Linked DNA regions of Homo sapiens: all the other regions are linked to region 1. The links are contacts of gene promoters, found by promoter capture Hi-C in blood cells and fetal thymus (Javierre and others, 2016). All regions are on one chromosome and are shown on one strand. Each heading gives the region's core, a stretch centred on a gene start or on the middle of the fragment in contact. The rest is flanking DNA. Distances are from core to core; before and after follow the strand shown. Region 1 holds the start of FSD2 (fibronectin type III and SPRY domain containing 2). Region 2 overlaps TM6SF1 (transmembrane 6 superfamily member 1). Region 3 overlaps HDGFL3 (HDGF like 3). Region 4 overlaps HDGFL3 (HDGF like 3).

Region 1 (5,935 bases), core at 1,980-4,479:
AAGTCTGCACCCATGCAGAGGTCATCTGGTGAAGCCCTAGGTCCTTCTGTGACCCTGGCTAACCTTACCACATGCATGGTCTGTGGTGTTGGGCATCATTCATTGCCCCAGCTCTGAATGTTCATGGGGTTGGTGAGGTGTGAATTCAAGAGAACAGGATTGGGCTAGGCGCTGGGGGTACAATGGATGAGACACAGTTGCTGGTGTCAAGGAGGCTCCAGACAAGTGACTAAGGGATTATTACCCCATCTGGGGCTATGCACAACTTCTCAGAGACGCTGCTTTCCCTCTTTCCTGGGACCCCAGAGTACTTCTCCTTCCTAAAGCACAGAGTCTGTGCCAAAATCCCACTATTTCCCTCTGTGGCTCGAAATCTTGCTTGAAACCCTCCTGTCTCTACAGTCTGCTGACTGCGCGCACCATGGTCCTTCCTCAGGGGTGTCCCTGCCCAGGATAGCAGCATAGCTTATACAGCATATGTTGCTTTGTTCAGGCAGAAGTGGTACATCTGCACATCGTGCATTCTGAGGGCTCCATTACTGGCAAGTCCCAACTCTCCTGGGCACCAGGGATCCCCCACCCCATGCCATAGCTCTATACTCCCCAAGCAGCCCCACCTTCCCTAGCGGTAACCCTCTGTTCCTTCTGGCCGCGCTCAGGGTCTTCCATGTGAGACTCACCCTAGGCCCTGGCTCAGACTGTCCTGCCTGCTGAGAGCTCCCACTCTTCCCTATCTCACCACTGCTTCTTAAACCCCATACTCATCCAACATGGCCCTCCATGAAGTCCACTGCATTGCTACTATCCATGAATGAGAGCATGACATCCACCCCCTCCAGCACCAAACCAGAGACCAGAAGCTCATCCTTGACACCCCCAATCTAATTAATAACTAATTCATGCTGATTCTGACTCTACCTCTTGAATCTCTAAGTAATATCCCTTTTCCTGTCCCCTCTCCCTGCTCCCCAAGATCACTGCCCTCTGGATTCAGAGAGTCCTGTGTTTGCATTGTTTCTGCCACATCCTGGAAGTATGACTTCAGGAAAATCATCTCTCTAGGCCTAACTTTAATGGACTATAAAACAGCTCTATTAACAGTGTCTACCTCATAAGGTTGGCATTTAGATGAAATAACATAATGTACTTTATGCATAGTACATAGCTTAAAGTAAGTCCTCAGTAAGTGTTAGCTGCTGTTATTGTTGTTGTTCTTACTATCATTATCATGATTCCTACCTTAGTATCTCCCACCTGGGCTAGAAGCCTTCTACCTAGTCACTCATGGAGAGTGACCACAGCAGTGTGGAATCATCCATGGCTACTGTGGGAATATTTGTCCCTTGAAAACAGCCGATGATGAAAGAAGGCACCAAGCAGAACAGCCTCATAACCACGCACAGACATCAGCTATGAGATCATTCCTCTCCCAGGGGGCCCAGGCAGAGATATGGTATTCTAGGGATGGAGGTCCCTTGGAGAGCATCTAATTCAATTTCCTGATTTTATTCAGCAGGTCATGGATGTTTAAAAAAAATTCCTGATTTTAGGATGGCAAAACTGAGATCTTGTGAGGATAAAGGACTTGCTTATAGCCAATTTTCTTTTACAAAAATGTATCTGGGCTACTCTGTATTTAGCCCTGTGCTTGAATCCAAGCTTTTCACCTGACACACAACCAGTCAGGTGAAGAGCTTGGATTCAAACCCAGGTTTCCATTAAATCACACCATCTACAGACAGAGGAGCAGTTCACTAAAATAATGCTTACATTCCCATGTGCTACCCAAAGGGAAATAGCCAGGATTCTGTATGACCAATAAATCATCATGAGAAATTATTTCAACCAGAAGCTGGAATGTGAAACACCAAGTTGAACTGTCAGAAGACTGGAAAACACTTAGTGCAAATACAGATAAGAACACATGCTTTCAAGCTGGCACTTGCCCTTCGAACACACAACACAAAGTGGTCTCAACACAAACTGGCTCAGTGTCAAAGTAGGAATTTTGCAACACACCCTACAGTTAACAGTCACTTTTCCCCTCAACACCTAGACTCTTTCTTAACAAAATCAGGATTTGGGGAGAAAGGAAAGTTGACAATAAACTGTCATTTTATAAATGGTGAAACTAAAGCTTAGAGAAGTAAAGCAATTAGTCATAGTCCATTATGAATGTCTTTGCTGGATACCCTTTCCTCTATGCCAAGGGAAGCAGTTAAAAAAAATAAAAAAGATGTTTGTCTAAGGCTTATATGGGAGGTGTATCCCTGTGCATTACTTAGAAAAGTCCCCCAATAATTTTTTTTTTTTTTTTTTTTTAGAGACAGGTTCTTGCTATGTTGCCCAGACTGGTCTTGAACTCCTGGGCTCATGCAATCTGCCACCTCACTTGGCTTGTTTATTAACCTTTTATGGATCATGGGCATATCTACTGAATCTACTGAAACCTGTGAATTCTCTTCCCAGAAGTGATTCCATAAGGGCAGGAACATAACTTTGCCTATAATTTTAGCTCTTCCATGCAGCCCTTGGCAATTCCTGAGCCACAGCAGTGAAAGAAAGCTTGCCTTAAAGTGTTACAGTGATATGAAATGATTCAAATCAGCTTTGCAGACACTGCCCGAACCTGAAAACTTTCTATAGGAGGAGGCTGTATGCATAACAAGTGAAAAATAATTACGATGCTGTTTTTTAGTATTTGAATCAATGCATGAAGTTATTATTTTTCAGCATGTACACACAGATTAAATAAAATGTATTTACAACACAATAGTATAGCCAGATGATATTCAACATCTATATTTCCAAACTGTTCTACCAAATGGTTCTAACTAATGGGTCCCAGCACTACAGATATCCTAAAGACACATTATAAGAATCACCAGCCCCTGTCTGCCTTCATCAGAGCCTCTCACATCCTGTCCCAACATCATGTTCAGTTAATGCGAATTCTTGCTTTAAGAAGGCACAGAAAACATTTACACTATTTATTGTAATTTAAACATCTGCAATTTACCATGATATCTCTTCCCACCTACAGGAAAGATATTGCATTAATATTGCAGCATTGAGTTTCTAATAATACAATTTGCATTGGAAGAATATGACTACCCCAAAACTTGCCTGCTAAGCGTCCATAAATGCTTCCTTTAACTCAGAGGACCTGGAGTTCTGCTAGAAAATTGAATCTGTGTTCAGCAGGCTTTCCTTCCTAGTGACCTCTGCATGCCCCACAGGCTACCCCTGCCTATTTTACACCAGAGTTCTGCAAGTGGGGCACCAAAGCTGGATGGTAACATGAGCTGGCTGCAGCCACAAATAGCAACAGGCCTGCCATGAGTGAAGGTCCAAATATAGACCTGCTGTGGCTGAGTTGCCACTTCTTACTACTCAAGTGTCACCAGGAGAGGTCACATGCCGTGCTCTGAGTTACTTTCTGTGCTGTGAGGGGTTTTAGACTTGTGGCTCTACCATGGGTCTCAGATGGCTGGTCATGTGGAGAGGGCTGGGGACTGTCACGGCAAGACCAGGAAGAAGATTCCTTTTTTTTTTTTTTAAGTGAATGAGTTTCTAAAATTATATGCAAAATTATGTCTGTGTCCTTATAGAATCACTTCCGGGAAGAGAACTCACAGGTTTCAATAGATTCTCAGAGGTGCTCATGAACCATACAAGGTTAAAAAACATTTTGGGGGCACTTTTCTAATCAAAGCACAGGACACACTTCCCATATAAGCCTTAAGCAAACATTATTATTTTTTTTTTTTACTTGCCATGGTATGGCATAGAAATGGGACTATCCAGCCAATACATTCCTTATGGACTATGATTGACTATTTCTCTAAGCTTTAGTTTAATAATTTATAAAATGACAATTTAGTGTTAATGTTCTTTTCTTCCAAAATTCTGACTCTGTTAAGAAGTTGAAAGAGTCTAGGTGTTGAGGAAAAAAGTGAGTGTTAACTGTGGGTGTGTTGCAAAATTCCTACTTTGATGCTGAGCCCACAGACCAGCATAACAGTATAATCTCTCTCTCCTCTCTCTCTCTCACATGCACGCACGCACACACACACACACACACACACAGTGTAATAGTCAGAGTTGTCCAGAGAAACAGAACCAATAGAATGTATACATATATGGAAACAGATTTATCATAAGGAATTGACTCATGTAATTATGAAGACCAAAAAGTCCCAAGATCTGCAGTTAGTAAGCGGAAGATCCAGGAGAGCCAATGGTGTGGTTCTAGTCCAAAGGCCAGCAGGCTCAAGACCCTGGAGAGCCAATGTTTCCATTTGAGTTGGAAGGCAGGAAAAAAACCCATATTCCCACTTGAAGGCAGTTAGGCAGGAAGAATTCCCTCTTATTCAAGCTTTTGTTCTATTCAGACCTTCAATCGATTGGATGAGGCCCACTCACATGAGGGAGGGCAACCAGTTTTACTCAGTCTACTAACTCAAAGGTTAATCTCATCCAGAAACACCATCACACACACACACCCAGAATAATGTCTGACTAAACACCTGGTGACCCAATCAAGTTGACACATTAAAATTAACCATCATACATATATATACATATGCTATAGACAGTTTATATTCCCCTAAAATTCCCATGTTGAAACCAAATCCCCAATGTGATGGTATTTGGAAATGTGGCCTTTGGGAGGTGATTAGGTCATGAAGGCAAGCCCTCATGAATAAAATTAGTGCCATTACATTGGGGGTCCCAGAGAGCTCTTCCATGTGAAGATGCAGTAAGAATACAGGTATCTACGAACCAAGAAGCAGCCCTTCCTTACCAGACACTGAATCTGCTGGTGCTTTAATCTTGGACTTTCCAGCCTCCAGAACCATGAGAAATAAATGTTTGTTGTTTACAAGCCACCCACTCAATGGTATTCTGTTATAGCAGCCTGAATGGACTAAGACATATATTAATATATAGAGAGAGGATAATTTTATTTTTTCTTTTCTTTTTTTTTTGAGGCAGAGTCTCACTGTTTCGCCCAGGCTGGAATGCTGTGGTGCAATCTCGGCTCACTGTAACCTCTGCCTCCTGGATTCAAGCAATTCTGATGCCTCAGCCTCCTGAGTAGTTGGGATTATAGGGCATGCACCACCACGCCCGGCTAACTTTTCTTTTTCTCTCTCTTTTTTTTTTTTTTTTTGGTATTTTTAGTAGAGACGGGGTTTGGCCATTTTGGCCAGGCTGGTCTCGAACTCCTGACTTCAACTGATCCGCCCACCTCGGCCTCCAAAAGTGCTGGGATTACAGGTGTTAGTCACTGCACCCAGCCACCCACGACAATTTTATAATTAGAAAGATTGACAGTTTCCGCTTGAAAAACCAAATAGATAAGAAAACTAACAGAAATAACACAGTATAAAGCAGATAGTAAAAAGATATAATGTGAGGAATATACAAGAAAGATATTTAAAACAGACTGTTAAAAATCATAAGTAACTCATATTAGTTAAAATAGTATATTAAAATAGGGGAAAATCAATCACTTCAGCTAAAAGTTTATCTCTCCAAGAAGACTGAGTGACTGAGTCCCAGGGCCCAATCCCCAACCCTCACACCGGCAGCAGGCATAAAAGGGGAGGGACCTTCAGACAAAGGCACCTTTCCATCTTCAAGTTGCATTCCACAGAGGTTCCTAGATTTCTTGAGGTCATTTTCAAGGCAGAGAGATGCCCTAACTAGAGCTTTAGCTTCGCCCTGATTTTTTCGTTTGCTTATTGTTTACCCTTGGGGATAACAGCAAGTACAAAATCTGATTCCAACTTTTCCCAGCTCAAAACCTTCACAAACACTTTCACTTGTTCCCGAATCAACACCTCACAGGCCTTGCTTTGGCAAACGGCTCCTGATCCCAGCTTCCTGGCATCTCCCTCCTTTCCTCCTCCCATTCCCACCACCTGTC
Region 2 (6,500 bases), core at 1,915-4,414, 320 kb after region 1:
TCAAGGTGAAACAGCACTGGCCTGGCAGATACTCTGTTAAGGCCTTCATTTCTAAGCTAGTTTCTCTCTGTTTCTTTTACTTTTCTAGGTATTAGATCATTTAGCAAGATCTTTTAAGCAAAACTGATATATGAAAATATGAATTACTAGAGATAATCAGAATACGACTATTCATTTTACAAAAGATTTTCAGTATAATTCATTAAAATACATTTTAATTGACAAATACTTCATTTGTAAACATTTAGACACCTTCTATGTAAACTCAGGCTGGCACACTGACAGCTGGTACTAACTTCCCTCTGAGGAAAGAGGTGGCTGTTAAAAAGAAAAAGCAAATAGTCAGTCCACCCTTAGTCCCAGCTCCACTGCTTTTAAAGGTTCCATGTCAGTGTGTCAACAGAGTAGGTATGCCATGAGGCATGCAGAATTACTTATCATTATTTTTAATGTGAAAACACAGTGACAGCCAGGGCCAAGCAGGCATTGTCATACAGTGCTGACAGAAACATAAATTCAGAATTGCTCTGCAAAGCAATTTGGCAATGTTATCAACCTTAATAATTCTGGAACCCAATAATTCTGCTCCTAGAGCCCTATCTTCAGGAAATCATCACACAGATACCACCAAAGATTTACAAAGTTGTTCATCATTACATTAAGTATAACAGTGAAAAATGCCTAAATATCCAACAGTGGGAGAATGGCTAAAGTGTGGTGTTTCCATATGGTATTCAGTTTGAGAAAATTTTTAAACATGTGGGAAAGTGCTTATAATATAGGCAGATGTTGAGAGCAAAAAGAACAAATACAGAATTGTTTATATACAGGAATAATTTTATATATAAAATTGTTCCTAATTTTGTGAAAAATGTAGATATATGTGTGTGTATATATGTATGTTGTGTGTATGTAACTATATCTATTTACATGTATTACTGGAAAAGTATACCAACGGTTAATAGTGGTGTGGCAGGTTTATGGTTTACCTTTAAAATTTATTATCATTAAAATGTCATTTCAAGAAAAAAAGTGGACTCATAGAGCTACAAGAGCCCTTCGAGAGATCATTTAGCCCAAATTCTTCATTTCACAGATAAGGAAATTGAGACTTGAGGAAGGAAATGATTTTCCTAAAGTTCCATGGCCAGTGATTTATGATATAAATTGTGCATCTTCAAAATTCTCTTATCCATCATCATGACATTTAATGTTTCAGATTTCAGATTCTTCTTTGGCACTTTGGGCCTGCTCTTTAGGTACAAACTCTATTTTAGGTTATTCAAGAAGCCCAAGCGAAAGACCTGCTGAGAAGACCATTTGATTTAATGTTGGTTGTGTGTCTCCTCCTGGCAACTGGATTTTGCCTGTTCAGAGGTTTGGTAAGCATAACAGATCATAATAACGTAACATTGTGATACTACTCACATTTCCAAATGGAAAAAAACTTAGAAATATGTTTTTGTTTTTCCATCAGACTTCTTAGCAAACTAACAAACCATTCCTCCCATCAAAGCCTGGAGCCCTGGACCTGCTTCCTGCTGCTCCCAACCCCAGCCTCCTGCTGTCACCTCCTCCTGTCCTTAGATCAAGCTCTACTCAGAAGCATCTTCCTCCCCGTTTTAGGGCATCTAAAAAATCAGCCATCAGAGTCTCTCTTTTTTATTCTTTTGATGTTTCTGATTTAAATGTAAATATCTTTGGTAAGGATGGCACCCTAGGACTGCAACACAACTGTGGCACAGAGCATCCCTGTGTTCTCAGGAGTAGGGGCAATGGGGTTGAGGAAGGCGTACCAGTTCAACAATTCACGTGTATGTAGGGTCATGGGAATGTCTCACTGGTAAGAGTAGTGTTGAGTAAATTCATCTCACGCCTGGAGTCTTTGTATTGATGTGACTGAAATACATTAAGGGCACATGGGCATTTCATGTTTTCTATTTTCTCTTTATTAATATTTTACTGCAGAGGTTAGGAAAAAGACTCACAGGCTTTGTAGTTAGAATCCTGGCCACTTACTAGCTGTGTGGCCTTGGAAAAACTACTTAACCTCTTGGACTCTGTTTTCCTCTCTGTAAAATAACACTACCTACCTTAACAGTATTGTTTTGGAGATTAAATAATGTACATCAAACACTTGGTAGAGGCTCTTATACATAGTAAATGATTACTGTTAGGATTTTTATTGATCAGTGATCCTTCACAATGCCCCAATTTGATGATTTCTTCTTAGTAGAAATGAATTTGGGAAGTTTAGAATTATATTGTTAATTATATTCAGCTTCAGTGACAATTTCTATTCGAAGCCTGTTGGCGCGCGTAACAGTTGGACAGTAGAGTGGCAAGTGTAAGCCCATGCAGGTGACTTTTATCATTTCAGGGTCTTGGGCTACTGGGGGCCTGTGCAGCAGGCTGGGTTCAGGGTGAGAAGCTGTTTTAAGAGTTATCTTTATCTGTGAAATGTCAAGAAACTTTCTGGAGGAGAGCTGGCTAACAGGAGGAGGGGCATGGGGAAGAGAAGTAAAGAAGGCAAGGCCATAGCTTTGCTTAGACCACAGGGCCACTGAAACTGTTCTTTGGTTAGTTTGTTGTAATTCTTAAAGTTCAAACAACAAAAAATAGTGGGCCCCACCTGTATTCTTGCACGGCCATATCCCCTTCCCTGTGCACGAGAAAAATGTGTGCATGTGTGGGGGTGCATGCAAGGTGGGTAGGGCTTTTGGATTGGGGCCATTTTTACCAACTCTGTCATTGGCCTGTGTTCATATATGCCATCTAGGTGGGACAACATTTATGGCCAAAGACATGAGGAATGGTGCCTGAGGGGAGGAAGGTGACTCAGAGGGGACCTAGTAAAGTGCCAAAAAGACTTTCCAGCAAGAGGACCCTGCTTTCAAATCATCTTTTACTGCCTCCAAAGGCCATATACGCTATGATGCACTGGAGACAGGAAGGTGCTATTTTCAAATCTTGCAATGCATAGTAAGATGAATTTGGTGTAGAAATATACTTTTCTTCCTGTAGGGAATAGGGGGCTAGTTATTTCCAAGAAAAGTGAAACTCATAATTTAAAGCAAGCTGTGCTTTGGCTAGCCAAACCTAGATACTTAAACTCTGAATATCTGAAAAATACCCAAGAATAGGGCATTAGTTTCCATTTCCTGCACCATAATTAACCTTTGCTTAGTCTCCTTAGAACAAATCTGCAAAATATTTCCATCATTGATGAGCCTCTACAATGCATACGTTTTGTTAAACAGCAAAGCAGCTTGTGACTAAACCTGGCACATTTAGCCTTATCAGCAAACCTAAGAACCAGATGTGATTGTATTTTTATAATGAGTTTATTTTTGTCCTTAGATTGCTTTGGATTGCCCATCTGAGCTCTGCCGATTATATACGCAATTTCAAGAGCCCTATCTAAAGGATCCTGCTGCTTATCCTAAAATTCAGGTCAAGTAGTTATGAAGCCTAAGATTTTTCTAAAATTAATTTTCTTTTTAAAAAATGGGTCCCAGCTGGGTGCGGTGGCTCACGCCTGTAATCCCAGCACTTTGGGAGGCCGAGGCAGGTTGATCACGAGGTCAGGAGTTTGAAACCAGCCTGGCCAGCATGGTGAAACCCCATCTCTACTGAAAAAATACAAAAAACTAGCCGGGCATGGTGGCACATGCCTGTAATCCCAGCTACTCAGGAGGCTGAGGCAGGAGAATTGCTTGAACCCGGGAGGTGGAGGTTGCAGTGAGCCGAGATTGCGCCACTGCACTCCAGCCTGAGTGACAGAGTGAGACTCCACCTAAAAAAATAAATAAATAAAAATAAAAGTAAAAAAAAAAAAAGAGTCCCATATAGGAAATAGGAATTAATATTTTCAAAGATGAAAATGTTTACTTTTTTGTACTTTTTAGTCAGGCCAAGTTAACTGCCAATTTGCTGATGATGTTATTTCTCTGTTCAATACAGATGCTGGCATATATGTTCTATTCTGTTCCTTACTTTGTGACTGCACTGTATGGCTTAGTGGTTCCTGGATGTTCCTGGATGCCTGACATCACATTGATACATGCTGGAGGTCTGGCTCAGGTACTAAGAATATTCTGTTGAGAAGGTTTACTTGTGGTCTAGGTGTCAATTGTTGAATATATGAAAAACTTCTCTGCTCAGTGTTTTAGACTAGGAGATAGCTATTAGACATGTCACCTTTTGTTTTGCAGTTCTTCAGAAGACATTTCTGCAAGTACATTTTATTTCAATCTCACAATAACTATATGGTAGATGTGCCATCCAGTTACACAGATGAGGAAGTTATCTGTGGTCCAGTGAAGTTAAATGATTTGCCCAAGGTTACACACCCAGCATGTGGCATTGTTGTTTTATTGGACTGTTTCACAATCTCTGAATACCATGGCTACTAAAAAAGGATTGAGAGCTGTCACCTTCAAAATGTCCATCCAAATTTAAGACTTCAGAATTCCACTACGCTATGCTATACAGAACCAGGGAAACTGGTTTAAAAAATGTTCTGGGCCTGTCATTTCATTCCTTTTCCGCTGGCACCTTGCCAAATATTTGGCCTAGAGTAGGTGTTCAGTGAATGCTTACTGCGTTTAACTGAAAATGAAATTATCTATGGAGAACTTCACACATAACATAAAGCACATTTTTACAAGATAATTAGCAAAACAAATCAATCTTCTGAACAAGGAAGAAAATTAATTTTTCTTACTAGAAATAAAACAAATGAACTTATCATTTAAAAACATTAGCTTCATCTTGTTCTTTTCAAGCAGTTATAAGAATGAGGTTCATCTAGAAACTGTAGGCTTGTACAGTCAATTATATGCATGGTATAATAATCATGATCGTAAGACATACTAGAATTCACACGGTTGAAAAATATAGTATTTAAGGGGTCAATGCATTAAATCCTTTCAGTTTGAGGTAATTCTTAATTATAAAATTAGCATAGTAGTATCGAAAAAGTTGATGTAGCATCCAGAAGTAATGGTTCCTGTCCTTTCCTTGAGGGGCTTAAGAAGGAAGAGAACTAACATTTATTGCTCTTTGCTGGTTGTTTTTCCTTTGCAGACCTCTAAATACCTGATTCCTCAGTCCTTGGGGTTTATTTCTGTATTTTAGGTCTTTATCTTTGTATCTTTCAATACCAACTATAAGCTGATAACTTCCAGTTTTCTACCTTCGGCCCACACCGTTCCCAGACTCCTGTATTTCATTCCAAACTCAGTCTTTTTACTTGCATGCCTCACTAGCACCTCAGATTTAATATATAAAATAGGACCTGATCCTCCCCACAACCTCTCTTCCATTTTTTCATTATCTGTTTAAATAGTCCAATTGCATCCAGCAACTCAAGCCAGAAACTTGGAGTAATTATTTACACTCCTCATCCTCTACATCTAGACCACCACTAAGTCCTTTTTTTTTTCTTTTAAAGAGACAGGGTCTTGCTCCATCTCCCAGGCTGGAGTGTGATGGCACAGTCATAGCTCACCGCAGCCTCGGACTCCTAGGCTCAAGCAATCCTCCTGCCTCTGTCTCCAGAGTAGCTGGGACTACAGACATACACCACCGCACACAGCTAATTTTTAAATTTTTTAAAGAGATGGGATCTTATTTTGTTGCCCAGCTTATTCTCAAATGCCTGCTTCAAGTAATCCTCCTGCCTCAGCCTCCCAAAGTGGTAGGATTACAGGTGTGAGCCACCACACCCAACCAGGTCCAGTTAGTTTTACTCCAGTGATTCTCCAACCCATTTTTTTTTTCCAGCTCCGCTGCCCCTACACTAGTCTGAGCTCTCATTACCTTACTTCATGCCAGGCAAACCACGTTAAAAGTTTTACTTACCTATTTGTCTAAGGATAGGCTATGTGCTCTGCTGCTGTAACAAATACTCAGAGTAGCTTAACACAATTAAAATTTTAATTCTTTTTTATGCAAAGATCATGTGGGATATTTTCAAGGTCCAGGCCTGGCACCAGGTCAACTGAGGGGAGGCTGGTGACTGTGGTCTTCCTGCCTGCCTCAGAATAAACAGCACAATGGACACATAATAATATCTTTTGTAATAGCTCTGGGAAAAAAACCCCAATTTAAAGATGAGGAGGCTGAGGCTCAGTCCACCTGAAATTATTTGCCTAAGATTACAGTTATTAAATGGCAGAATAGGTTTATGAAATCCTGTCTGACTCCAAAGCTCATATTCTTCTCCATTGTGTTATCTCACCCACCCCATGCAAACAATGAACTATGGCACAGAGTCCTACAGCACAAAAGACTGTATGTAGTACGAGGTGCTGGAGAACCTTGTGGGTGGAAGGCAGTGACATTCCGAGTTGGACTCTGAGGGCCAAGTGGGGCTTTATTAGGCTGAGCCTCTCCAGGGAATAACCCAGGGAAACACTGAGGTGTGGGCATATGCAGCAGGTCTGAGGGCAGAGTAAGCCTTGCCTTTTTTTTTGGCCTGGTTCCTCTGCCTTATT
Region 3 (6,616 bases), core at 2,455-4,954, 350 kb after region 1:
CAGTGGCTCACACCTGTAATCCCAGCACTCTGGGAGGTTGAGGCGGGCAGACTGTTTGAGCTCAGGAGTTTGAGACCAGCCTGGGCAACATGATAAAATCCGGTCTCTACTGGAAAAAAAAAAAAAGCAAAAATAAAAAAGCAAAAAAGCAGCGTGTGGTGATGTACGCCCGTGGTCCCAGCTACTGGGGAGGCTGAGGTGGGAGGGCAGCTTGAGCCCAGGGGGCAGAGGTTGCAGTGAGCTGAGATTGCACCACTGCACACCAGCCTGGGTGACAGAGCAAGACCCTGTCTCAAGACAAAGAAAAAAAAAAAAAAGGAAAAATCACCATATTTGTTTTTTAAAAAGCATTTGGGAAGCAAAAGAGAACAATGAAGTTATGCTAGGCAAGCGGTTCTCTAAATGTGGTTCCCAGATCAGCAGGATAAGCCTCACCTGGAAATTTGATTCCTAGACCCCACCCTAGACCTTCTGAAATAGAAATTCTGGGGATGGGGTTCAACAATGTTTCTATTTTACTTAACTGAAACTACCAACCAAACCTAAAATGTCATGTTATAATGTGGTGATTTTTACTTTTTACAAGAAGGGAAAACAGGGATTTAATGATACAAATGTGGAGTGTTTCCAGTTAAGATCAAGAATGATAGTAAAAGTGAAAAACTTTTTGTTCTCCTAGTAAATACAGTATAACTATTCAATGTGGCAAGCTTGTCAAACAATGTAAGCTTGTCTTTATAAGTCTTCCATGTAATTCTAAAACATGTAACAGTTTGAGAACCATTATGCTAGGTTATTTCATTGATATTAAAAATAAAAAGCTATTCTTTTTTTTCCCCCCTTTTGAGACAGGGTCTCACTCTGTTTCCCAGGCTGGAGGGCCGTGGCATGATCATGGCTCAGTACTCGCCTGGACTCCTGGGCTCATGCAATCCTTCCACCTCAGCCTCCCAAGTAGCTGGACTACAGGTGTGAGCAATCACTCCTGGCTAATTTTATTATTTGTGGAGATGAGGTCTCACTATGTTGCCCAGGCTGGTCTCAAACTCCTGGGCTCAAGAGATCCACTTGTCTCAGCCACTCAAAGTGTTGGGATTATAGGTATGAGCCATTGTGACCAGCCAAAAGGCTATTAAATGATCATGAAGTTGTAATCTTCAAGGAAAGCAAAGGAAATGATCCCTTAATTTAAAATAGATAAACATTAGTAAGCTAAGTGTGTCTTTACCCTTTCTCTGCTTTAAATTTTAAGTCCACCCAGGTGGAGCCCCATTACTTTTGGTCTTTGTAACAAGCAATAAAATAATGGCATTTAAAAGCCACATATCCACACTATTAAATGCCTAGGCAACATTAGGTAGCTTAGATAATTTAGGGTTGCACAACACATTAGGTGGAAGCTCAGCAGGCAATCACAAATTAAGTAAAATCAATTCAAGTAGGTGTTTAAATGAAGTCCAAAATGCTAAAAGAAATTCAGCTTAAAAAAGTAATTACAATGGAAGATAAAGTCTGACAAGAAAAATTCTAATTACTTTGTCGTCATTTGCAAACTTTATCCCCATCCAAGGCAATCACATGTTTTTCATTAGGTACACAGGAAACAATGCTGCATTCACACAATTCTGCCTGTATGCCAGTTGGGTAAGATTTTATATACTGCCAAAATAAATGCTGATAATCTAATAAACTCTAGGTACTTGTTTTTAGAGTTTCCTAAGTGTATTCAGTCACTAAACACCAGAATTTAAATAGAAGTAATTTATCCAGGTATTCAATCATGTGACAGACCAATTATAGTGAAACCTGTACCAATCTTTGGTCTTCAAGGATCCATTTATCTTGCTTTCAGTTTCTAAAAGGTGAATAATTTTCACAATCTCAGAGTTCTTTCCATTGTATTTCTGAATTACCATATGAAAAAACCTAGACTTTCAATTTGTAAATCTAGGATCATGTCATTCCTCTGTTTAAAATCTTCAAGTATTGTTAGATTTGGAATAAAATCCAAATTTCTCATTATGGCCTACAAGTCTGCATAATTAGGCCTTTGCCAGCCTTTCCCCCTTGGTCATGATTCTCCAGCCACACCTTCTTTCAATACAGGAAAAACATGCTAAACTCTTCCCTGCCTCAGAGCTTTGATGCTACATTCCTTTCCCTCTGCCATATATGGCTTCTCCTCCTACTCTCTTCTTTGAGGTCTCAGCATAAACTACACGTTTTCAGAAAGCCCTGGCCACCCTATCTAAAATAGGGGACCTATTTTAGGTCCCCCTGCTCCCATTCAATTCCTTCACACCCTTTCACAATTTATTATTTACGTGATTACTGTGTGCTACCCCCACTCTCTGTTGTACTATAATTTATGTGAAGGCAGGAATGGAGTTGCTCACCGCTGTATACCTAGTCTGGTGTCTGGAATAGACTAGGTGATCAGGAAATAAAAGAACTGAATAAATAAACAGCCAAAGCACATTCTTTGAAGCAGAATGACAAGTAAAAATATATCTTTTTACAGTCATGTCACATAGTAATGTTTGGTCAGTGACAGACCACATATACGAAGCCTTGACGTGTGGTAGGCTGTACCACCTACATTTGTGTAAGTATACTCTATGTTGTTTGTACAATGACAAAATTGCCTAATGATGCATTTCTTTTTTTTTTGAGATGGAGTCTCGCTCTGTCACCCAGGCTGGAGTGCAGTGGCACGATTTTGGCTCACTGTAAGCTCCGCCTCCTGGGTTCATGCCATTCTCCCACCTCAGCCTCATGAGTAGCTGGGACTACAGGCGCCCGCCACCATGCCCAGCTAATTTTGCTTTTACATTGTTAGTAGAGATGGGGTTTCACCATGTTAGTCATGATGGTCTCGATCTCCTGACCTTGTGATCCGCCTGCCTCAGCCTCCCAAACTGCTGAGATTACAGGTGTGAGCCACCGCGCCCAGCCATGATGCATTTCTTAGAACCCCATAGTTAAGTTACATGTGATGCATTTACACATATAGTACATAGACATAGTCTTGAATTATATTGTGTTTCCTACATTTCTCAATTCTTTAGAGCTCGTCTGGAGGTTACTGTAGGAGGCAAAGCTACTCATATATCCTTAACTAAAGAACAGTCAGTCCTCCTCCAACTAAAAAGGTGGTATTTTCAGGGCCAAATCAGCCCTAAAGAGTCAATAGTCAGATTGCTCTAATATCTAAGGTTACCTGACTTCCCTCTGCTGTATTTTGTCCCTAAAGGCAGAGGCTCCATAGAATTTAGTATATTTCTATGTACCCAATAAACACATGGAAAATAATCTAAAAATGTTTAATGGATATGCATATAACATTAATAACAATGAGAAGTTTCTTAGTAACCTTTGAAGTATATGACTTTTTCCGTTTTGAGCCTGCTTTTTCATTCTTTCTTTTGCCTTTTCCATCTTCTTCTACTCTATCACCTTCTTCCTCACTGCTTGCATCTGCAGTATTTCCACCTTCTCCCTCAGTTTCTGAAGAGCTCTGTTGCTGAATTGCCTAAGAAATAATAAAATATTAGCTGATTACATTTTTGAAAAAATAGCAAAGAACAAACACTGAAAAGAACTACTCTGTTTTCATTTGAAAGGGTTCCGCTTACTCGGAAGATTTTCAAAAACAAAGGGCTGTCAAACTGAATTTTCCAATGGACACTTGATTTGAACCCTTCTGATTAAGAATTACATTTAATCCAAAATGCTACTGGAGTCAAAAAGAATTGTGACTTCAAGGTAACTATTAGTAGAAAGGACATATAAGAAAGATTTGAAAAAGCGTTAAAACCAAAGAAATGAGATATAGCAAGTGACAAGGAAGTAAACCATTACCTGGTAGCCAGTAAACTTTACTCCTGGGTTATTTTCTATTTCCCACAATCCTTCGTTAAATCCTTTCCGTTTGTTTGACTTTCCAAACTTGTCTTTGTACTCCTTATATGGAAAAAGGTCTTTGGGACCTAGAAATGCACTGCAGAGACATATTAGAAATAGAATTGACACACTGACCTTCAAAGGTAAGATATTTTAAATATCAGTATCAGTGAAGATGTCAGAGCATACTATAGCAAACAAATCTAAAGTACATATAAACCCTTCAAGTTAGGCACATATTACGAGGTGTTTCAGACACATACTTCAAGGCAGAAAAAATGGATAGCTGAGCATACAAGCCAGCCACCTGGATTGTGCTACTTTGATTTTACTTTTAAATTATCAATATCTTCATTTAAAAACTGATTTTTAGTTACATAAGTAGAATTAAATATGTCTACTTTGGCCACTTAAATCATCATCTTAAACTAAGATTTATCTATGTTAATCTTACCACAGGTAAGGGTTTTGTGAAATTCACAGTAAAAATATAAATGCTAGAATAAAAAAAAGATTTTAACTCTCTATATAGTAATTCCCCACTTAACTGTGGTTTTGCCTTCTGTGGTTTTAGTTACCCATGGTCAACTGTGGTCCAATGGAAAATGAACAATTCATAGGTTTTAAATATTACACCCCTCTGAACAGGTGATAAAATCTCACACCCACTCCATCCTGCCTGGGACATGAATCATCCCTTTGTCCAGCATATCCATCATATTTGCACTACCTTCCCACTAGTTACTTAATAGCTATCTCTGTTATCAGATGGAAAAATCATAGTATATATAGGTTTCATACTATCCACGGTTTTAGGCATCCACTGGAGGTCTTGGAATGTATCCCCTACAGATAAAGGGGGCACTACTGTACCACGTTAGTATATTTATTCACTATTATTTCTTTCTTTTTTTTTCAGATAGAGTTTTGCTCTTGTTGCCCAGGCTGGAGTGCAATGGTATGATCTCGGTTTACTGCAACCTCCATCTCCCGGGTTCAAGGGATTCTCCTGCCTCAGCCTTCCAAGTAGGGGATTACAGGCATGCTCCATCACATCTGACTAATTTTGTATTTTTAGTAGAGACGGGGTTTCGCCACATTGGTCAGGCTGGTCTCGAACTCCTGACTTCAGGTGATCCACCTGCCTCGGCCTCCCAAAGTGTTGGGATTACAGGCATAAGCCACCGTGCCCAGCCTATTATTTCTATAAATTAAAAAATCATTTTAGTGTTTAATGAGGCACTAAGAAAAAAATTAGAAGTGACAAAGCAGATAGACTTTTATCCAATTTAAACCACATCCTAAATTAATCACAACCAAGAAAAAAAAAGAAGTTAGAACAAATTCTGAGCCTGGCTAATAGATCAGAGTCTTTAGCATTAGGCCACAGTTCTGGCTGACACCCCTAGAGCTTACTTCTCAAACTGAGATTCACACATTCCTTCATTCAACAAACATTGATTGAACATTTGTTAATACAATGTGCCAGGCACTATTCCAGAGGAGCTACAGGGAACAAAGAGACAAACATCTCTGTTTTCTTGGAGCACATGTTCTAGTGGCAGGGGTGGGGGTTTGGACAATAAAAAGATAAAATATATAGTATGTGTGCTAAAAAAAATAAAGCAGAGAAGGATGGGAAGAATAGGAGATGGATTTTATAATTATAGATATACAGATCAAGGAAGGCAAAGGGAATAGCTAAGTAAAGAACAAAGAAAGTGAAGGAATAACTCATGCAGTTACCTGGAGAAGAAAAGAACAAGTTGAAGAAAGAGCAAGTACAAGGTCCCTCAGGTGGGAGAGGAAGAGTGCCTCATAAGTTTGAGAAACAGAAGAGGTCAGTGTGGCTAGAGTGAAATGAGTGAAGGACGACTGGTGTGAGACAGGTTAACAGAGTAGGGGCACAGATTATTTAGGGCCTTGAAGGCCACTATAAAGGCTTTGAGTGAGATGGGAAGCCATTAAAGGTTCTGAGAAGAGAAGTGGCAATTTATGTCTTAATAGGATAACTTTGGCTGCTGTACTGAAAACAGACTGAAGACTTAGTTACTACAGTAGAAGCAGGGAGACTAATTAGAAGGCTTCTGAAGTAATGATGGTGACTTGAACCAGGGTGTAAGCAGTACTGTTGGTAAGAAGTGGTCAGATCCTGAATTCATTCTCAAGAAAGAGCATCAAGATTTGTTGATGGGCTGCATATGGCATATGTGAGAAAGGGTAGAGGAGTTGAGGATATCTCTAAGGTTTTTTTTTTTTTTGAGACGGAGTCTCACTTTGTCGCCAGGCTGGAGTGCACTGGCACGATCTCGGCTCACTGCAACTTCCGACTCCCTGGTTCAAGCGATTCTTCTGCCTCAGCCTCCTGAGGACCTGGGATTATAGGCACATGCCACCATACCCAGTTAATTTTTGTATTTTTGATAGAGACGGGGTTTCACCATGTTGGCCAGGATGGTTTTGATCTCCTGACCTTGTGATCCGCCCACCTCAGCCTCCCAAAGTGCTGGGATTACAGCCATGAGCCACCACACCTGGCCATCTCCAAGGTTTTGGACTGAGAAATAAGAAGGAGTTGGTATTTACCGAAATGGAAATATTTTGGGGGGGGAACAATATTTGGGGGCAAAAAACTCAGTTTTGAATGCTACATTTAAAATCCAGTTTAGACATCCAAGTGGAGATGTCAGGTAGCTGGAGAGAGGACTCTGGA
Region 4 (6,507 bases), core at 3,850-6,349, 390 kb after region 1:
CAATAAGCACACGAAAAGATGCCCAACATTACTGCTCATTAAGGAAGTGCAAGTCAAAACCATAAGATACCACCTCACACCCATTAGGATTCCTACTTTGAAAAAAAACAGAAAATAAGCATCGGCGAGGAAGTAAAGAAATTGGAACCCTTGTGCATTGTTGGTGAGAATGTAAAATGGTGCAGTCCCTATGGAAAACAGTACGGTGTTTCCTCAAAATATTACAAATACAATTACCATATTGAAGTAGAAGGCAGGGCTTAGACCCTGGACCAGATTGAAGACTAGCAGAAACAGGAAAAATATGAAAGCAACTCTCCGTAGGACACACCTACCAGTGCCATGTCAATTTACCGTTGCCAGCACAACATCTGGAAGTTATTGCCCCTTTCCATGGCAAGGACACAATGACCCAGAAGTTACAATCCTTTTTCTAGGAATTTCTGCATAATCTGTCCCTTAATTTCCATGTAATTAAAAGTGGATATAAACATGACTGCAGAACTGCCCCTGAACTGCTACTCTGGGTACACTGCCTACAGGGTAGCCTATAGTGTAGCTGCACTCTGCATGGGGCAGTACCTGTGCTGCTGCTGCTATACGCTGCCACGTTAATAAGAGTTGCTGACTCACACCACCACCACCCCACCCATGAATTCTTTCCTGGGCAAAGCCAAGAACCCTCCCAAGCTAAGCCCCAATTTGGGGGCTCACCTGTCCTGCATCAATATGAACAAGGAATTCAACTTCTGGCTACCTACTCCAAAGAACAGAATGTAGGGTCTTTAAGAGATAGTTGTACATTCATGTTCATAACAGCATCATTCACAATAACCAAAAGGTGAAAAAAACTCAGGTATCCATCAGTGGATGAATAAACAAAATGTTTTACATATACACAATGGGATGTTATTCAGTCTCAAAAAGGAAGAAAATTTGGACATACATGAGCCTCAAGGATATTATGCTAAGTGAAATAAGCCAGTCACAAAAAAACACATACCGTATAATTCCATCTGTATGAGGTACCCAGAGTAGCCCACTCATAGAGACACAAAGTGGAGAGGTGATTGCCAGGGACTAGGAGGCAGGGAATGTAGAGTTATTTTTTAATGGGTATAGTTTGTTTTGCAAGATGAAAAGAGTTCTGGAGATAGAGAGTGGTGATGGTTACAAAACAATGTACTTAATATTACATAAACTATACACTTAAAATGATTATTAAGATGGTATAAATTACATTCTATGTATTTTTACAATTAAAATTTTTTTTTAATTACAATGAGCACATAAAAAGCTTATTCCAAGTCTGGTTTTCACCTTTTCTTTACCTAAAATAAATTCAGGGTTTCTGCCTAATTGTCAAAGTGGTTAGTGTGAATTCCTTATCTCCTTTCACTTCCTCCTGGCATCCTATGGAGATGGGTGCAGACGGCAATGAATTTTAGTGCAGCTCCCTTCCACTTACTTGCTCTGTAACTGAGCAAGTCAGTTGGTAAAAGAGATTAATGCATTTTAGCTTTCTCATCCCTTCGAAAACAACACTGAAAATCATCTTAAATCTTATGTCTCAGAAGGTACTATCATTTAAATTTTCATTAAAGACTTTGAAATTGCCTGCAGGGAAGGAAAAAGCAATAGAACAAAATGTAAAGGAGGGCTCACTCAGGATGCAGTGTTATCTCTTTCTAATGGTAAGACTATATAGTTGTATTACAAATAATGTAGACAGTTCCAAAAACTACATTTCAATATCGTATGACAAAAAAAGCTGAAACCCAGTCTTTTTGTAATAAATTGCCAATTAAAAATGTCTCCATGTATTCTCTTTTCCACGCTCTTTCTTAGTCAGTTTTGGCTCATTCTTGTTCATTTAGTCTAATTGCAAAGATAGAAAAATCCTGTCATCATGTTTCAGACAAATATTGGGCAAAAAACTTGAGGATTGTATTTGTGACTAATTGTATAACAGGTTATTTTAGTTTCTGTTATGTGGAAAGTGTAAAACATTCCAACAAAGGTTTTTTAATGTAGATTTTTTTTTGCACCCATGCTGTTGATTGCTAAATGTAATAGTCTGATCATGATACTGAATAAATGTGTCTTTTTAAAAAAATAAAAGAAAAATATTGTCATCGAGATCTACATATATTGCACTTGTATTCCTCTATGTACATGTTTCTGTTCCTTAATCTATCTCAAGCTCTTTAATGTTAAAATCATGTCTTATTAATTTTTATAATGCTAAGTCTATCACAGTTACTAACCCAGAAGAGATACTCAATAAACACCTAATGAGATTATAATGGTAGAACATTAATGTTACCCAATTCACGTAGTTCTACCTTCACATGGAAATAACTGAAAATTTAAAAAGTAAAAGTTTCAATGACAGAAATTAAGAATGTTATATGCTTAAATGCTGAAAACCAGGTTCTTACAAAATTTGGCAAAGAATGAAAAAAGGGAAAAAAATCTCCTAGGAATGGTTAAAAAAATTAAGTTACATATACTTATATCTTAAAACAAAACAGAAAAGTTTTGAGTAAAATTCTGGATAAAGATGTATTAGTGAAATAAAAGCAAAAATGAAAACAGGTTACAAAACTAATATCCAACGAAGTACTATAACTTATGTGCTAGAAAGTATGAAATAGCAGATCACTATATTTTGACTCCATCCTGAAGTTACAAGTTATACACATTTATGTGCCAAATAAAGCCCTGACATTTATTAAATAAACGGTCAAAAAAAGGGACAGATATGTAGAAATATAATAGATATGTTAGATTTATATACCTCTTCATTTTGGAGAGAGTAGTTGACAAAAAATAAACATTAAGAATTTTAAAAAATATATTAGTAAATATCAATATATTTATATTTGTCCATTATATTTATTGACTTATTTATTAAGTCAATATACTTATTGACTCATTTATTAAGTCAATATACTTATTGACTCCTAAAGAAGCTTTCTTTTCAGGAATACAAAAACCATTTTTTAAAAGTTGATCACATATGAAAAGAACACTAAATGAATTAAAATAGTTAAAAAGGATACATAATCTGACTACAAGATAACCATATTAAAAAACAATAAAGCATTACATACAAACTCTTTAGCCAGTTATAATTCCTAAAATTCTCTCCTAAATATCTCTTGGGCCAACTCAGAAATGAAAATCACAAAACCTATTTTGAAAATGACTATAAAACACCAATTATTCAAATCTACATCATGAAGCCAAATATGACCTGAGGAAAACTAGCTTTAAAAGTTTTCATTTTCAAAAAGATTTCAAAAAAATTAAATAAGACTTTATTTCATTAAGTTTGAAATAGAAGAAAAGAAAAATATACTTGGGGAAAGGTAGTGAAGATGAGATCAGAAATTAATGATTTAGAGAAAAAAATAGAATTGATTAACAAAAAAGGGGGAAACAAAAATCCAAGAGGATTAGAGAAGGTTAGAGAGAGATGATTTTCATTTATAAGCAAAAGATAGGAAGGTGCAGTTAAAGCCTGTTGGCATCTATTTTCTCTATGAAGTATGAAGGTAAAACAATTTGCTGAAAATGAGGGGGAAAGGCTGGAAGAGAATAGTAAATGTATCTACTAACATCTGAGGAAGATGTACAAGGAGCTGACCTAGGGCATGCCCACTCTTGTTAAGCTGCACTACTTTTGTCATTTGCTTTTACAATATAAAAATAAGGGACACATTTGTTCTGGGTTACCTGATCCTTTGTAGTTAAATAAATCTTTATCCCAGGAGTGTACTCAAAACGAAGAATGGAGACCATGATATTTCATAACTCTACCAAAGGCTTTGTCCTTCCCCTGACATCACACATAGCATAAGATAGGGTCAGTGCTGAGCTGGAGAACAGCCAGAGTTCTTGAACACCTGGCATATCATAAAATTTAATCTAATCTTATTTCTTTTACTTCAAAATATTTCCATTTATAATAGTATAGTGGGTCTGTTTCTAATAACATTTTACATATTTTATGTGAGTCAGTGAGCCAGATGTAAGACATAAAACTGTGCTTACAGTAACTTTTCAGAAATGTTTCTTTTAAAAAATTGAAGAATGCCTTCCTATCATCAATACCAGGTTCTCTCTACTCAGATTGCTATATCTCACAGTAGCAAGGCAATCTCTTTTTGATAGGACAAAATAATTAAAAAGGAAATACAAAACCATTAGAAACATGTTAATCGCAAAAACTTTACATCCACTTTAAAGGGTACCACAAACCTGCCCTATCTTCAAGTTTCTGAACTTCACAAAAGCTCATCATCTTCAGTCATAGCTTGATACCTCCACAGTCTAGTCCCACAAACCAGGAAAACTCCACAGCCTCAATATCATCAGCCACGGAACACTAGTTTGTCAAACACTGTATATAACTCGGTAGTCAGCAAACGTGTGGAACTTACTACCTTTAAGAAGTCAATTATAGGCCGGGCACGGTGGCTCACGCCTGTAATCCCAGCACTTTGGGAGTTCGAGACCAGCCTGCCCAACATGGCAAAACCCCATCTCTACTAAACATCTAAAAAATTAGCCGGGTGTGGTGGTGTGCGCCTGTAATCCCAGCTAATTGGGAGGCTGAGGCAGGAGAACCTGGGGGCGGCGGGGAGGGGGTGATGAGGAGGGTGGTAGAGCTTGCAGTGAGCCAAGAACACACTACTGCACTCCAGCCTGGGGTGACAGAGAGAGACTCCGTCTCAAAAAAAAAAAAAAAAAAAAGAAGCCAATTAATTATATATATAGTTGTTGATACATTTGCAGTTGAAAGATTAAAAGGAAGATGAGAATTAAAATCTATATAACTAACCTTTTGGGATCAGGGGACATATTGGCCTGGATAGTTCAATGACCTAATACACTATTGCTTTAATTTATGTTCGTGTGACCTTCATGTAAGACTGTGGCTACAGCAGAATAAAAAGCTCAGGACTGTTAACAAATCATCCTCTCAAAAATCCAACTTCTGTTCTATATAAACGCATACAACTCACAGAGATTACTTTCCCTTTGGCCTACTGACCAGACCAGTGTTTTTCAAACTGTAGGTAATGAAACTCATTTAGCAGGTTGCAACCTGACTTTACATAAAATGAAATATAAAAATATCAGAATGTATCACATATAGTAAGTACAACTTGAAAATTTTTTTGTTATAGGTGCATCTTAGTCCATTTTGGGTTGCTGTAACAGAATAAATGAGGCTGGGTAATTTATAAAGAAAACAGGCTTTATTTAGCTCATGGTTCTGCAGGCTGGAAAGTATAAGCATGGTACCAGCATCTGCTCAGCTTCTGGTAAGGGCCACGTGCTAACTCAAAACATGGCAAAGAAGGTCAAAGGGAAAGTGGACACGTGAAAAGCAACCAAACAGGAGGAAGAAACTTGCTTTATAACTCACTCTTGCAAGAACTAATCTATTCTCAGAGAACTAATCTAGTCTCCAGAGAGGGAGAACTCACTACCACAGGACCAGCAACAGTACCCAAACACCTCTCGCTAGAACCCACCTCCCAACACCACCACACTGGGGATAAAATTTCAACATGAGTTTTGGAGGGGACAAACGGATCATATAAAAATCTCAGCAGTGTGTGTGTGCATGCATGTGCACGTACTGGGATGGGAATTAATATTTATTTCTCACTGTAGGTTACAGTCAAAAAACCTGAAAGCCGTTAGACTGCAATCAATCAGCAACAACAACTCATTTCCAAAGTCTAAATATTTTTTTCAAAATTATTGACTTCATCATCATGTAGTAGTCCAGGGAAGGAGATAAGAGAAGTTATAACTTGTTTTAAATTAGTTGGTTTCATTTGGAACATCAAATAGTGGTCTAGAGGGAATTTTCAATCCATTCAACATATGGTAACTCTAAAAGCATTAACTGAGAATTTATACTACTACTCCCTCTGAACAAGCATTTCCTCCAAGATCAAACATGTTATTAATAATAAAGTACTACTTCAGTGTCAAAGGAAAAGGAAATAGAGATCTGAAGTTGAGTTTATTTTCTGACCTGTCTACATCATAAAAAATCCTTAATCTTCTGTGAAACTCATTTTTATATGTGCTAACCACTACTGAAACTATCACTTAAAACCACTCTCATCTCGTATTTTGCAATAGAAACTGAGAAGTTATTACTATGTGATCAGAAATTTTCCAGTCCCCATACAGGCAACCTGGCAGCTACCACTGACTCCCCTACACTGACACCTCTACTTCTGGGTAGCTGTATAGACTCTATATTCAGACTTAGAGAATCTATTCAGAATATGAGTTTCAATGATCAAATGAGAAGAATAGTTTATTCTTAGACCCTTTTTGTATGTTAATGTGGTCCAGTTTATCTTGTCCCCAAATCCTGAAGCTCTGTGGAACTTCCAGAAATGGCCTATCACAAGCCAGGTGCAGGGGCTCACACCTGTAATCCCAGCACTTTGGGAGGCCGAGGCGGGTGGA

Evidence for each region. Contacts are between HindIII fragments. The CHiCAGO score rates a contact against its expected background, and 5 or more counts as called.
Region 2: a fragment that was not itself captured here is called in contact with the fragment with the promoter of FSD2 in region 1 in 1 of 17 cell types (neutrophils); the score reaches 6.0 in neutrophils.
Region 3: a fragment that was not itself captured here is called in contact with the fragment with the promoter of FSD2 in region 1 in 1 of 17 cell types (neutrophils); the score reaches 5.3 in neutrophils.
Region 4: a fragment that was not itself captured here is called in contact with the fragment with the promoter of FSD2 in region 1 in 3 of 17 cell types (fetal thymus, megakaryocytes and erythroblasts); the score reaches 6.2 in fetal thymus.

Annotation. Positions count from the first base shown.
Region 1 is chr15:82,802,840-82,808,774 of GRCh38, forward strand. It overlaps FSD2 (fibronectin type III and SPRY domain containing 2), which reads right to left and starts at 3,230. Exons shown (of 13, transcript NM_001007122.4): 1 at 3,127-3,230. RefSeq lists an enhancer at 3,514-3,613. The HindIII fragment of the contact is 1,284 bases long and covers 2,564-3,847 here.
Region 2 is chr15:83,123,395-83,129,894 of GRCh38, forward strand. It overlaps TM6SF1 (transmembrane 6 superfamily member 1), which reads left to right. Exons shown (of 10, transcript NM_023003.5): 7 at 1,278-1,382; 8 at 3,361-3,453; 9 at 3,964-4,083. HDGFL3 (HDGF like 3) reads right to left here. Exons shown (of 6, transcript NM_016073.4): 6 at 4,359-6,500. Among named protein-coding and RNA genes, the nearest start is that of TM6SF1, 19 kb to the left of the region's middle. The HindIII fragment of the contact is 7,337 bases long and covers 1-6,500 here.
Region 3 is chr15:83,154,042-83,160,657 of GRCh38, forward strand. HDGFL3 (HDGF like 3) reads right to left here. Exons shown (of 6, transcript NM_016073.4): 3 at 3,862-4,000; 4 at 3,374-3,532. Among named protein-coding and RNA genes, the nearest start is that of TM6SF1, 50 kb to the left of the region's middle. RefSeq lists an enhancer at 3,989-5,188. The HindIII fragment of the contact is 5,956 bases long and covers 727-6,616 here.
Region 4 is chr15:83,193,314-83,199,820 of GRCh38, forward strand. All of the region lies in intron 1 of HDGFL3 (HDGF like 3), which reads right to left. Among named protein-coding and RNA genes, the nearest start is that of HDGFL3, 11 kb to the right of the region's middle. The HindIII fragment of the contact is 4,252 bases long and covers 2,974-6,507 here.